Regions from separate parts of the Homo sapiens genome. Here all the other regions are linked to region 1. The links are contacts of gene promoters, found by promoter capture Hi-C in human tissues and cell types (Jung and others, 2019). All regions are on one chromosome and are shown on one strand. Each heading gives the region's core, a stretch centred on a gene start or on the middle of the fragment in contact. The rest is flanking DNA. Distances are from core to core; before and after follow the strand shown.

The links. Contacts are between HindIII fragments. The study calls those that stand out against the background at their distance.
Region 2: a contact is called between a fragment that was not itself captured here and the fragment with the promoter of EMX2 in region 1, in 1 of the 25 tissues and cell types used here (H1 embryonic stem cells).
Region 3: a contact is called between a fragment that was not itself captured here and the fragment with the promoter of EMX2 in region 1, in 1 of the 25 tissues and cell types used here (H1 embryonic stem cells).
Region 4: a contact is called between a fragment that was not itself captured here and the fragment with the promoter of EMX2 in region 1, in 1 of the 25 tissues and cell types used here (lymphoblastoid cells).
Region 5: a contact is called between a fragment that was not itself captured here and the fragment with the promoter of EMX2 in region 1, in 1 of the 25 tissues and cell types used here (lymphoblastoid cells).

Annotation. Positions count from the first base shown.
Region 1 is chr10:117,541,300-117,543,999 of GRCh38, reverse strand. It overlaps EMX2 (empty spiracles homeobox 2), which reads right to left and starts at 1,254. Exons shown (of 3, transcript NM_004098.4): 1 at 327-1,254. The coding sequence starts at 732. It also overlaps EMX2OS. RefSeq lists an enhancer at 1-39. The HindIII fragment of the contact is 12,526 bases long and covers 1-2,700 here.
Region 2 is chr10:117,673,735-117,676,434 of GRCh38, reverse strand. No RefSeq gene overlaps it. Among named protein-coding and RNA genes, the nearest start is that of LINC02674, 60 kb to the left of the region's middle. The HindIII fragment of the contact is 3,786 bases long and covers 1-2,700 here.
Region 3 is chr10:117,737,298-117,739,997 of GRCh38, reverse strand. The region is part of intron 2 of LINC02674 (long intergenic non-protein coding RNA 2674); the gene reads right to left. Among named protein-coding and RNA genes, the nearest start is that of LINC02674, 3.7 kb to the right of the region's middle. The HindIII fragment of the contact is 8,709 bases long and covers 1-2,700 here.
Region 4 is chr10:117,760,727-117,763,426 of GRCh38, reverse strand. No RefSeq gene overlaps it. Among named protein-coding and RNA genes, the nearest start is that of LINC02674, 27 kb to the right of the region's middle. The HindIII fragment of the contact is 4,904 bases long and covers 1-2,700 here.
Region 5 is chr10:117,777,017-117,779,716 of GRCh38, reverse strand. No RefSeq gene overlaps it. Among named protein-coding and RNA genes, the nearest start is that of LINC02674, 43 kb to the right of the region's middle. The HindIII fragment of the contact is 5,618 bases long and covers 1-2,700 here.

The sequences.
Region 1 (2,700 bases), core at 5-2,504:
CGCGGGCTCTGGGCTCCGCGGCGCCGGGCACGCACAGCCCAGCCTGCTCTGATTCGAGCGCACTGGGGGACAACTTCTCCGTTCGCACCCCTTCCCAAAGGGTCAAGCGGCCCGCAGGCCATCACTCCAAACCAGTCGTAGCTTCGGAGACTGGGGATCGACACCACGCCCGGCCCCGCGCCGCCTAGTTTCCCAACAGGGCGCGCTGGCCCGCGAGCCGGAGGAACCTCCGCCCAGGCCTTGCCAAGCGCCCACCCGGAGCAGGCCGGGGGCAGTGAAGGATGCGGCGGGAGCGGCGCGCTGCAGTTCCGCGACGTGGCACGTACCTTGGAAGCGATGACCCAGATATCGGTAGCGGTGGATGAGCCAGGGGTAGAAGGTGGACGGATCCCGCTGCTGCGAGGCGAATAGGGGGTGTGGCGAGTGCGAGGAGGGTAGGGGGTGGGCGGCCAGGGCGTGCGGCGGCGGCACCGGGTGCACTGGCACGGCGGGGTTGGGCGGGTGCGAGACCGCCTCGGCGAACACCAAGTCCGGGTTGGAGTAGACGCCCCTACCGGCGGCGGCGGCGGCGGCCGAGTGGAAGCCGTTGAGGAACGGATTTATGGGGCTGGAGTTAGCGTAGCTGAGTGCCGCGGGACGGATGGGGTCCTCGGAGCGCGAGGCGGGCAGGGGACTGTCCTTGGCCACCAGCGACTCGATGGTGAAGCAGCGCTTGGGCGCCGGCTGGAACATGCTGCGCCGAGGAGCGGGCGCCCTGGGCTCCCAGCTCCTGGCGACCGCCGCACGCTGCCTCCGCCGCCCGCTGCCCGCGGCGAGGACGGACGAGAATTGGGGACTCGTTTGTTTGGGGTGGGGGTGGGGGTGGGGGGAAGGAAAGGAAGAAAGAAAGGAAAGGAAAGGAAAAAGGAAAGGAGGGGGGAGGGAGAGGGAGAGGCAAAGCCGAGGATCCCGAGAATCTTGCACCAAACGCGCCCAACCTGAAGAGAGGGGGGAAAATCCTTCCAGAAGAATTTGCAGGCGTGGATTGGGGTAATTTTTTTTCTTTTTTTTTCTTTTTTTTTCTTTTTTTTTTTTTTTTTTTTTTTTGGCGAGATGGCGTGGGGGGATCGGAGTTAGAGGCAGGGAGGAGAAGGGGGGAAAGTTCTCGGGGGAGGCAAAAAAAAAAAAAAGTTTTTTCTCCTCTGCAAAAGGCGGGCAGGGCGCCCTAAGTCCAAGGACAATCCATGGAAGTGTTCGCTTCTTCACAAGTTGTGCAAACGATTTGTTAGTTCATGAGCCTAATTAGTGCGGGGATCACATAAACAGCTTCCTCCGAAGCCTGGTAAATGGCTTGATGATTGGTCGCTATTACTCGCCCTGAGGTGGAAGGGGGGAGACTCTTTAAAGTGCGTCAGAGGGAGGTGAGCGCCTGGGAACCCGGAGGCCTGGATCCGGGCCGAGAGTGGAACGGAGTCGGCGCCGCCGCCTCGGCTGAGCCTTCTGCCGCCCACCGGGCGGCCGGGCTTCTCCGCGCCTTCGCCCCTCGCTCCCAGCTCACTCGCTCCTGCGGCGCCCGCTGCGGCTTCTCCTCCTCCTTCGCCTCCTCCTCTTCCTCCAGTTTCTTCTTCTCCTCCTCCTCCTCTTCTTCCTCCTCCTCCTCTTCTTCCTCCTCCTCTTTCCCCACCTACTCCCCCTCAGCCACCGCCTCCTCCTCCACCAGCACCACTCCCTCCGGGGCACCCCGGTCCCTGCAGAGTCCCTGGCCGGCGCCGCCTCCGCTGCGGCCCCCTGAATCCCGAGCCTGCCTCGCCCAAGCTGGTAGGACAGAAGGACAGACAGATTCCTCTAGCCTAGCGCTCCGCCGCTGCTGCCTTACGCGGCCCCGCGTCGGGAGAACTGGGATCGCCCCAAGAGCACCGCGAGGGTAAGCGGGCAGGGGCTGGTTCCCGGGCTAAAGGCGCCGTTCGGTTATACCAATCCCCACACTTAGCAAAACTCCCAGCGGTTTCCTAGGCCAGGAGGGATCCTGGAGTGAGGGGTACGGGGTCCTCCCACCCCATCAACCACGCTTAGCCTCGAGGTCCCAGGGTCGGTGCGTTCGCGATTCTTGACCCGGCTCGTTCGTTTGCGAGTTGAGACCGGGAGCTGCCGACCCCGCCGGAGCAGTGGGCTTCCAACTCTCTCCCTCTCTCGCCCCACGGTCTCTAGCGTTTTCTGTCTGGGAGGGTGCTCACCTCCTTCCCCAAAACAATTCCTTCTGGAATATCTGGGACCGGCAGTCCAAGGTCAGGGGAGAGCCCGATATGGTGCTACTGTACTATTAAGGTTCCGTCGTAATTATTTTTGTCAGTGTGGTCAATGTTATTATTATTATAGATGATATTATTTTATTATTATTATTTCTATTATTATTATTATGCCATCTGTTGTCCCGGGGTTGGTGGGGGGGTGGTGGTTGCTGTGCAAACCCAGTGCAACTAACGACTACGGATCGCATCTCCGGTCCCGGGCCGTGTCCGCATTTTCGAGCTCGCCTTCGGTTTTGGGATGATTTTAGGACCGAGTTCCCTCGTCCCCATTGGCTCGCGCGGCGGCATAATTATGATCACATCCCCAGGCTGCTGGCGCTGCTCTCTGTTTATTGGTGGTTAAAGATCTATTATCTATTCATCAGCCGCCTCTTTTTTCCTTTTTTTCCTTTTGCCAATTACATTCTTCTAA
Region 2 (2,700 bases), core at 147-2,646, 130 kb before region 1:
TAATGAAATATGGCTGAGGAAGAATGAGATACGCAGATCTGTGGGAAAGTCAGAGAAGGCTTCCTGGAGGAAAGAGGCAACTAGGATGGGCCTTGAGGGATGATAACAGATGGTGTCCCACAACCTGGGTTGAAATCCCATCTCTGCTGATCACAGTTGTGTGACCAAGTCAAGTTACGTCTCTTTGCCTCCTTTTCCTCATTTGTAAAATGGGGACCAAAATAGTACCCATGCCAGTGGCTGTTGTGGTGATTAATTGAATTAATACAAATAAAGTACAGGCCCTGCCACACAGAAGTACTCAATACAAGTAGCTATTAAATAGCTATTATCTGTTAAATGGGGCTAACAAATAGGGTTTATTTTGCTGCCAGGATAAAGAGGAGAAAATTCCAGGAAAGCACTTAGCACAAGAACTAGCACATGGTAAGCACCAGATAATATTGCTCTTTAGTATTATGGTGGTGGTAGTTGTTGGCCGCTGGGGGTAGGGAGGAGAGAAGGGCAGGCAGGACAAAGCATTAATTAGCTCCCCCTCCTCTCTTTCTGAGTTCCGGGCCCTCCATTTGGCCCCACGCCCTTGGCTGCCAAGTGTCGCCTCCAGATCCCCCGCCATGAATCCCCCCGGAAGCGGGAGCAAAGGGAAGGCAGATTCTGGCCGCTCTCCTCTGTTCTCAATCAAATGTGCTGCTTTTCTGCCTGGCTTCACACATTGTAAAAGGCAGCCATGTTCAGATTGCTCAGTGTCCACACATCGGGCTCCTCCTGACCCGCTGTTTGCCTGCAGATGGGTTCGAAGCCCATTATTGTAATGGATTTGCTGTTGGGTAGAAGAAGGGGTTGTCCGCCTAATAAATCTTTGCCCCAGTGGATCGCATCCAATAGACCATCCTCCACACCACGGTTTTGCTCTGACGGATTTGTTTAGTGATTTCTGAAAGACAGATAAGCTCCAATGAGTGCCCTGAGATAATATAGCAAGACATCATGAAGATGGAAAAAGAAACGCAGGACTTTTTTGGAGCAATAATTTAAGGATTTTTTCCTTTTCTTTTCTTTTTTCTCTTCTTGTCTTTTCTTGGTCCACCTTCTGAAAGTGTTGTAATACCATCTTGCTGTTAGGTTAAAAAAACAAAGTGCTGCTAATGAGATGCGTAGAAAAGTAAAAACATGTCATGCAAATTAGACACCTTTGGGGATTTTGAAAAACCTGTTTGAAGGGCTAATTAAGAAGCTATTAAAAATAATTCATAATAATCTGCTTTCCCCAAATTCTTTTCAGTTCAGAAGTGTAAGTGATGCCATTTTTATTTCACTTTTTGAAATACATAAGTAGCAGGCCCCTCGTTTACCTGGACACATTTGTTTAAGCAACAGGTCCCTCGTTTACCTGGAAATACTTTTCAAAACCTTTAATGACTTTTATTAAGGTAATCCCATTTGTCCCCTTCCTCCTGACATATTCCTTTTCTGCTTGAGCTGGTTCTTGCAGCAGATTGTTCAGCAAATGCGGTCAGCGCACCATCGCAGGAGTGACTCTAAGTCTCACTGGGAGAAAATTGTTGTGAGTTACAGGAAATTAAAAAATTCCTGCAATACCAACCCACTTCTCAAAGTCAATCTGTGGTATCCCAGCATCCACTCGACTCTGAAGTCAGGCCAGAATGATTTTTGAAGAGTAATTTCCAGCCTTATAAGGGGTCACGTCGTGTATTGAAGCCATATTTGCTTCTGTGTTTTGTAAATTTCAAACTCATTACTAAACCTTGTCTCTTATACCTTGTGTCTGGCTCTTACCTTGCCCTCATCAATCTGAGCCTTGAAAATCTAATGAAGAATGGCACACATTTTGCATGTGGAAATGTGATAAAACACCAATTGTTAGGAACCTGAGGAGGAATCAGTTTTCGAGGATGGGCGGGGAGGCGGGCCTCTGTTCTTAGAGCCAGCTCACTGCTAGGTCTCTGCAAGTCCCCAGGAATAAAGAGAAACAAACAGGATTTTCCCACTCTCCTCTGAGCCCCACTGTTCCCTGTCTTTGAGATAAGCCACAGGCCGTGTCTGCGCCACAAGCTTTCAAACCGTTCATGCTCTAAGAGCCAGGCGATAAGATGAGCTCTGTAACATTTTCCTTATAGAAAGCAGAGGTCTCTGTGTTCTGCAGAACAATATTACCCTTTACTTGTGTTCCAAGATAGTAGCTCAGTTAAGCTGTGAACACCTTGAGAATTTCACATGGTATCTCATAATGGACACAGAAACTACATGCCTGGGTTCTGTGATTTTCTCCAAGGAAATCTATAGAGGATGGAGTGGCAGATAATCATGGCCTTTGGGGCATTACAAAGGTTGATGAAAGCTGTGGGACCTTCTCCTAAACATGCACTCATGCACACACACACACATATGCACACACACACAGCCTGTCTCTCGAGCTCTCATTCTTGTTATCTCTTGCATCCCATTTTAGAGAGTCCACACTAAAAACCTTTGGTGCAAGTAAGCATCACACCGCAGCTCCCTTCACCTGAATAGACAGGAGTCAGCTTGGAGAAATGGAAAAATCGTGAACTTTGGAGGCAGGCTGACACGTTTGCAAACCAGCTCTGCTATTTCCTAGCTGTGTGGCCTTGGACGAGTCACTTGACCTCCCTGGGTCTTGGCTTTCTCATCTGCAAGTGGTGACAATAATACCTACTT
Region 3 (2,700 bases), core at 131-2,630, 200 kb before region 1:
TTCTGGCTCATCTCTTGTCAACATGTAGTTGAAAAGGCATTCCACTTTGTGACTGTTGTGTGTTACGTATTTTGAATGGGAAGGCAAATGTGCATAGAGAAGATAATGTCAAGCTGATATTTTGGGGTCAGCTAATAGTTATTGCCTGCTTATTCTGTGGCAAACACCATTCAAAATGCTTTTCTATATATTGCATAATTGACTCCTCCCAATCCAGTTACGACCTTACCTTTATGGATGAGGAAACTGAGGCATAGAGAAATAATATAATTTGCTCAAGCTAGTAAGCAAGGAATGGGGCCTCCATCCCCAGTGACTCCTCATTCCCATTCTTGCACTCATTCAGCATGGAGTTGCTCTTGGTCACCCATGAGTTCAAAGCAAGCAGTGAACATACCTTCGTCGTCCTCATGCCCCATCATACAGCCTAAATCGGCCTCCTTGGAAGTCATGGTCTAAAGGCAGGAACCCTCCCAAGGGCATATTGGCATCCCGGTAAAGTCACCGGTAACCTGAGCACCATGCCAGGGCCCAGCAGCCCATTTAGAGTGGCACCACAATCCCAGAGGCAGCTGACATCCCCTTCACAACCTTACTAGATTCACCCAGTGGCTTCATGAAGGGAGTATTTTTACTATTTCGGACCACCCTGTCATTTAAGCCAAAATAAATTCAGCCCCTGGGGCCAGAGGCAGGTCTGATGTGAATGTGGAGAGAAACCCAAGGCTACACCGCCTCTCGAACACATGCATCCTGGCCCTCCAAGGTGTTGCTCACACTGGGGGAGGTCCAGGCCCACAGCGAGCACCTGGGACGGAGCGTGTTCCCTTGCCTTGCACCTTGCTCAAGTCCAGGGTGTTGACCACAAGCCTTTAACACAAAAGCAGCGAGCTGCTGGGTAGGTGGACAGGTTGTGGAATTGGCCGCCAGACACTCAACAGGGGTATTATGTGGGTGGTAGATGCCCTAAGAATAGGGAGGGCTGGGCTGGGCACGGTGGCTCATGCCTACAATCCCAGTACTTTGGGGTGCCAAGGCGAGCAGATCACCTGAAGCCAGGAGTTCAAGACCAACCTGTCCAACATGGTGAAACCCCATCTCTACAAAAATACAAAAACCAGCCAGGTGTGGTGATGCGCACCTGTAATCCCAGCTACTCAGGAGGCTGAGGCACAATAATCATTTGAACCTGGGAGATGGAGGTTGCAGTGAGCTGAGATCACACCCCTGCACTCCAGCCTGGGCATCAGAGCAAGACTCTCAAAAACTAAAAATATTAAAAAAACAAAACAAAAAAAAACAATAAGAAGGGCTGAAAAACATGAAAGTGCTGAGGTTGTGGGGAGGAGTCACTCAAGATATATGTGCAGCTAAAGCGGAAAGTTCTGAAGCAGAAGAGAAAGGCAGCCTTCTCCCCAAGCTGGTGTGAGGATTCTGCAGAGCTGCAACAAAGCTGCGGGGATTGGAGTCAGCTGCACTTGGTTCAGAGACCAGCTCCTCTGTTCATTAGCTCCAGTTCTTTCACCTTTCAATGTCTTGGCCCATAAAATGGATGCAATTTCAGTCTCGACTCCCAGGGCTGCAGAAGGCCCACTGGGGTTGACCACATAAAGCACCAGCACCAGGCCTGGCCTGCAGGCATCTGCAAGTGTTGACCCAGGTGCCTTTGAATCCAATCCTTCTAGAAAAAGATTTTTTTTTAAAGTAACAGATTTAATTCTCTAATAATCTGCATCATCAAATGAGACATCTCACTGTCTTATTTTTATAGCCGTTTTGCAATTTTTTAAAATCACTTCTTCATTTTCCATGGGCCATGCATCCTGAACTAGAGGGCATGAACTTTGAGGTGGGCCCAGCATGGACCAGAGCCATGGAACTGAGTGTTTCTGAGGTCAGCAGTTTGCACTTCACAGAGCGCTTCCCTGTATATTATCTTCTTTAATCCTCATTCACGGTGGCCCTGGGGGGCAGGTAGAGCTGACCTCATTACCCCCGTTTACAAACAAGGAAATGGAGATTCCCCAAGGGTTTCAGTTAGGAAGCAGCAGCTCTGGGGCTCTAAGCCAGGTCTTCGAACTCTAAGCACAGGGTGTTTTTCGTAACACCTGAGCAATCAGAGACTCAGCACCCTCTGGGCTGCCTGCACATCAGCACTTGGGCACCATGACTCTCCGACAGAGGCCTCATGCAGGATGAGGGTAACAGCAGGGACCCTGGAGCAAAGGGTCTCCGAGTTCAAGTCCCAGCTCTGCCAGTTTCTAGCCCCGCGATCATGGGCAAGCAGCAGGATCTGCCTCACCTATAAAATGGGGGTGATGTTACTCCCCACCACCTAGGGTTGCTGCGAAGATTTCAACAGCTAACAGTATGTGTCAACCAGTTAGAACAGGGCCTGGTATGTAGTAAGAGCCGTAATATGTCGCTACTGATCTCCTATGCAGGGAGCTACCCCCTCCCACCCACCTTCTCTGTTTGCTTCTGTGGCTTTGTGCCCCAAGAGGGCTGAGGCTGTGTCCTATCCCTTTTGGGGACTGAAACAGAGGGGCAGTGCAGCATAATGGTTAGGAGTGTAGGTCCTGGTTCCAAGCCCAGATCCTGCAACCTCCTGGCCATGTGATCTGTTTCTGTGTTGAGCCTCAGTTTCCTCCTATAAGAAGGGGACAATAAAAGAACCTATTCGTGAGTATTGTATGAAGT
Region 4 (2,700 bases), core at 134-2,633, 220 kb before region 1:
GGTGGTACAGAAATCCTATGACGATGTCTTCTCAAAATACAAGATCAGACTCTTTAAGAAGTTCTTGCAGACAAGGGTCCCTAACCACACAGCTCACTTCTTGTCCTGGGGTACTTGGGAACCTTCTGATCCTCTGATGGGAGCTGGGGCCTCACCAGAGCAGGAGCTTCACAACACCTTGTTGCTGTCATGAATCTTCCAAAGGTCCTGTGGACACCTAGAAACTCAAGGTTGCATTTACCACGACAAAAACTAAGCAAACAAACAAAAACACTTCTACTTCCTGTGATGCAGCCAATGTCCCCCGCGGGAGTCGGGTGAAGAACATGTGTTCCACTGCTCCACCCGTCTCCATGGCCATCATTCTGAACGTGGTGTCATCATGGCAGCATCCTTTCACCCTCTCCCCAATCCTGACATAAGCTGCACCGCCGTGAAAGCAGTCTAGAGTGGTAGAAAAAGCTCCTTCTAACCCTATGGCTCATTTCCAAGCCTGCTGGTTGATGAAACCCATTGCAATGACCTCCACGAAGCACAGGAAAATGGGTCACTCCCTGAATTGCCAAGTCTGCCAAAAATAGGTATGTTACATCATTGCCACACGGGACCTGACTCTTACTCAAACAAGTGTGCAATTTAGGGGGGTTTTCTGAGTAATTTGCCAGCCAAAAAAAGACGCTGCCATTCAGGGAGCTCTTATTATCTCAGAATAACAGGCAGTACGTGTCTATCCTTACCTTGTGCTGGGAGCTATTCTCCACCCTTTACCATATTAACTCATTAATTCTCACAACTCCATGAGGTGGGTATAACTGTCATCACTATTTTACAGATAAGAAAATCAAGGCACAAAGAGTTTGTATCACTTATCTGAAGTCATCCAGCTAGAAAGGAATAAGGACTGGATTCAGGCTCTTAACGGCTCACTCTGCAGGGTCTCACGCAAAGCCATATGAGATGATGCTAAGTCTGCAGCGGTGGGACCTGAACTAGCAGCTGCCTGTCCCACGGCTCTGGTTGCCCCATGGTTTGCAGGGCTACAGTTCTGCTCCCCAGCCCTTCAGGCACATTACAGCCTGGTCCACCAGACAACTTTCTAGGTGACGGCATTGCATCCATGGGCATTGCCAGGGCCTCCGCCCGCCAGGTTCCTAACCACGTAACTCTCAAAGGAAACGAACGCCTCCCCCGGGCAGCCATCTTTATTTTAGACGGTGATGTAAAAATTCCAGTTCCCTTAGCAAGGAGCTCTGTGCTGAAGACAAGGTTTGCCTCTGTCCAGAAAGGCAGTTTCAAGGTAAAAATTGAATATCCCTAGAGTGACAAGGCATTTTGTCTCCCATTAATTTTGAGAGAGAAAAATGGGGAGAAAGAAGCAAAGACAAACGCACAAGCTCCCTCCTCACTCTTCACCCCCGCCCCAGGCAGAAAGGAAGCTAAGGAAAGCCTAGCGCCTCTCTCCCTCTGTCTCTCTGCTGGCTGCCTTTAGCTGTGGGAGGAAATAAGCTACAAACATTCCGCAGGAGATGCACACGTGGACAAGCTTGTATGTCATCTTAGAGTGTTCACGGGGTGCTCACATTCAGAAGGGACCTGGGAGATGACCCAGTTCATCACTGTCCAACAGAAATAGAATGTGAACCACATACATCATTTTAAATTCTGTAGAAGCCACAGCAAAAAAAGAAAAACAGCAATTTAATATATCCAAAATATTATCATTTCAGCATGTCATCACTATAAAAATTATTGGATTATTTTACATTCTTTTTGTTATATTAAATGTGTATTTCACACTCACAGAATTTCTCCTTTTGGATTCAATTAGCTTCCTTTCAAATGCTCAGTGTCACCTGTGGTGAGAGGCCACCGCATGGGACAACAGAAGCCTAACACATCACTCCATCTGATGGATGATCACAGATCTTCTTCAACATCCTTTAAGGAATCATCTAGTTCCTTGCTACTCACATACGGCCAATTGGCAGCAACAGCATCACCTGAGTTTGTTAGAGATGTAGACTCTCAGGCCCCACCCAGAACCTATTTAAATCAGAATCTACTGATGCTCTCCTCAGGTGATTCATCTGCTCCTGCACGTGAAACTCTGAAAACCCCATTATCTCCTCTTAAGCACTTCCTGTGGCAGGGAACTCACCATCCCATCCCCAAGGAAGCCCGTGCCATCTTTAAATGGGTCTAGTTATTAGAAAGGCATTTATCCTTTCTTTATTGAGTGCTCCCTATGAGCCTGGCACTGTGCTAAGCACATCCCGTGAATTATCTCATTTAAGCCCAGCACAGCCCTAAAAGAGTGGAACTAATTTTGGCTCCTTTCATATAATTAAGGGAAAAGAAGCCCCATAAACCTGGATAACTGGCCCCAGATCATGTGGCTGGCCAGAACTCTGTTTCTGTGCCTGTTTCCTGAGCCACTCACTGCACCAGGGTCTCCCTGTCCCTTCTGCCCGATGCCACACAGACCCCAGGAGTCTTTTCCAGTTTCAAAGAAAAGCGTTGTTGGCGCTCGGGAGAGATGGTCTTCAGTACCAGACTTTATATTTTTGTGGACTTCATTAATTGCTGATTTCATTCTTTCATTTGTTTTCATTCAGTATGTCATTTCTCACTTAAATACACTCTGTTGGTACCTGCCCGCTCAGCATTTACTTTCCTCATCAAGGTTTAGAACAAGTTTAG
Region 5 (2,700 bases), core at 156-2,655, 240 kb before region 1:
ATTTACTGTTTTTATTGCTAGCGGTCAATGATCACCAAAAAAAAAAAAAAAGAAAAAAAAGAAAACTGGATAGGTTCACTGGTGCCAGTTCAAATGCATTTGTCCTTTCACTCAAAAAAATAAAACTGTTGGGTATTTTCCATGTTCCAGTACTGTGCTAGGCATAGTAGGTCCATGAATATGAGCCTGGAATGAGTCCTGCCTTCAACTATATGACAATCTAGTAAGGAAAATTCATGGGAAGTCACAGGCAGAGCAGATAGCTCTACTTGGGGACAAAAAGAGAGTTCAGAGGGAAGTTCAGAGGAAGGCAAAAATATTTCAGTAGAGGGAAGCCGAGAGGGCTTCTTAGATGAGGTGACATCAGAGCAAACCTACCTTTAATTCCTGAAGCAGTACCTTTCTCCGACTTTCATGGTCTGCGTCCTCAGTGCTGTGTGACCTTATCCCCCAGGCTCTTCTCAAAACACAAATAGTAGAAGGAGTGATAACACAGCAAGCCAAACTGTGGCAGATACTGACTCTGTCCTGTGTCACATCCCTCAAGCTGTCTCTGACTTCATCTTTGATACCACCAAAAGCAATGGGTAGTGTTCTGCATGCTGGCAGGTTTCTATGTTAAGGGCCTGATGAGTATCTCCACCTCGGGCTCTGCTTTAGAACCTTCTCCAAAATCAGGGAATCCCATGGAGCCCACCTACAAGTTCAGTGTGAGGTTGGGGGAGAATGAGCCCTGCTGGGGCAACCTTTGAGCAATGAAGGATGGAGCCTGTGGGTAAATGCTCTGGTGTCCTGTCCTTTAGCCAGAATATTCTGGAAGGCAGTCTGCAGGCTTCCCCAAGTTTCAGGCAGCTGAGCCCCCAAGACCTACAGCAGCAAACTCAACAACACACCTTCATGCTGGGCACTTCCTCCCTGTTACACTTCCCCTCTCCCTCGCTCATCATCATTATCATACAATAACTTGTATAGGATATTATAATTTGTACAGTGCTGTCAAACAAAACACAACAAAACCTCAGTGGCTGAGCACAATGAACCTTCATTTTGAGCTCATATTCCATGTCAGTCTGGGTTGGGGGGTCTGTTCTGCATTCTTCTCCTTTGGGGACTCAAGGCAACAGAGCCTCCACTGTGGAACATATCCAGTTTGTGGCAGGGGAGAGAAACATGGCGAATTGAGCACCAGATCTTCAAGCTTCTGCCAGAAAGTGACCCTCCTCACTTTGGGCCACATCCCACCGGCCAAAGCAAGTCACTTGTTCATGTCCAATTTCATCTAGGAGAAAAAGGCAGCCCAACCTTGTCCTTAGAGGGAAGAAAATGGGACTGCAGAGGAACAGCCCCCAGGGCCACCATGTTATTCTCCCTGAAAAGCCAGCTCTGTGCCCTACACTGGACCAGAAGCCCTTGATGTCGTGGGGATGGAGGGAGCAAGATACAGTGTAGAGGGAAGCAGAATACCCCAGCTCTGTCCTCGGGAGCTCCCAGAGCCTGGGTCCTCTTTTTGCCGCAGAACCTTGTACCTGCTCCTCCCTCTGCCTGGACCTCTCTTCTTGCTCACTCATGGCCCCAGTTCTTATTCATTCTGCACATCTCAGGACAAATCTTATATCCTCAGAGAGCTCTAGCTTCCCTCCCCGCCACAATTGTCAAAGACAGATCTTCTCTCTTATTCTCTCACATTCTATTTTTTTCATCGCAGCACTCATCACATTTGTAACTGTATATTGAATGTGGTGGTTTTATTGGTAGGCACCCCACTAGACTATAAACACCGTAAAAGCTGAGACCACACCTGTTTTTCCTGGTTGTATCTCTACCATCTACCAGTCACACACATAGTAGATGCCCAGTAAATATTTACCAAAAGAACTCATCAGGGAGACAAGAAATACATGAAATGAGCAGAAAATAATTTAAAGAAGTATAAAACCCCCTTTATGTTTATATATTTGATTCACATTACCCTTTGCTAAACCCAAAGGTAGATGTAAAAACTCTAGGGAAGGGGCCGGGCATGGTGGCTCACGCCTGTAATCCCAGCACTTTGGGAGGCCGAGGTGGACAGATCACGAGGTCAGGAGATCGAGACCATCCTGGCTAACACAGTGAAACCCCATCTCTACTAAAAATACAAAAAATTAGCTGGGCATGGTGGTGGGTGCCTATAGTCCAAGCTACTCGGGAGGCTGACTCAGGAGAATGGCATGAACCTGGGAGGCAGAGCTTGCAGTGAGCTGAGATCGCACCACTGCACTTCAGCCAGGGCAACAGAGCGAGACTCCGTCAAAAAAAAAACAAAACTGTAGGGAAACTGGAGAGCCTTCCATGTAAGTGGTTAATTATTATTCTTTCCCATAGTTCTACTTATTTCCCCAACATTCCTGGTACAAGGACCCGGGATTTTTATCCCCATCTTAGAGATGAGGAGACTCAGAGAGGGGCAGTGACCTACTTAAGGTCACCTGGATAGTATTCTGATTTGCAGTCCTAAGCTGCTCCCTCCATGTGACTCTTCCTAATGCAGCCTCCAACCAAATGCTTGGAATCTGGTTGTTTGATTAAATGTGGCTGCTGTTAAGTTTAAGTCCATAATTAGAATGGCTAAGACATATCGCACATCCTTCGAGTTCATGATCTTGTTTAATTTTTCTCAGCAGACTCTTGCATTGCTTCCTCTAGAAAAACATGGATAAT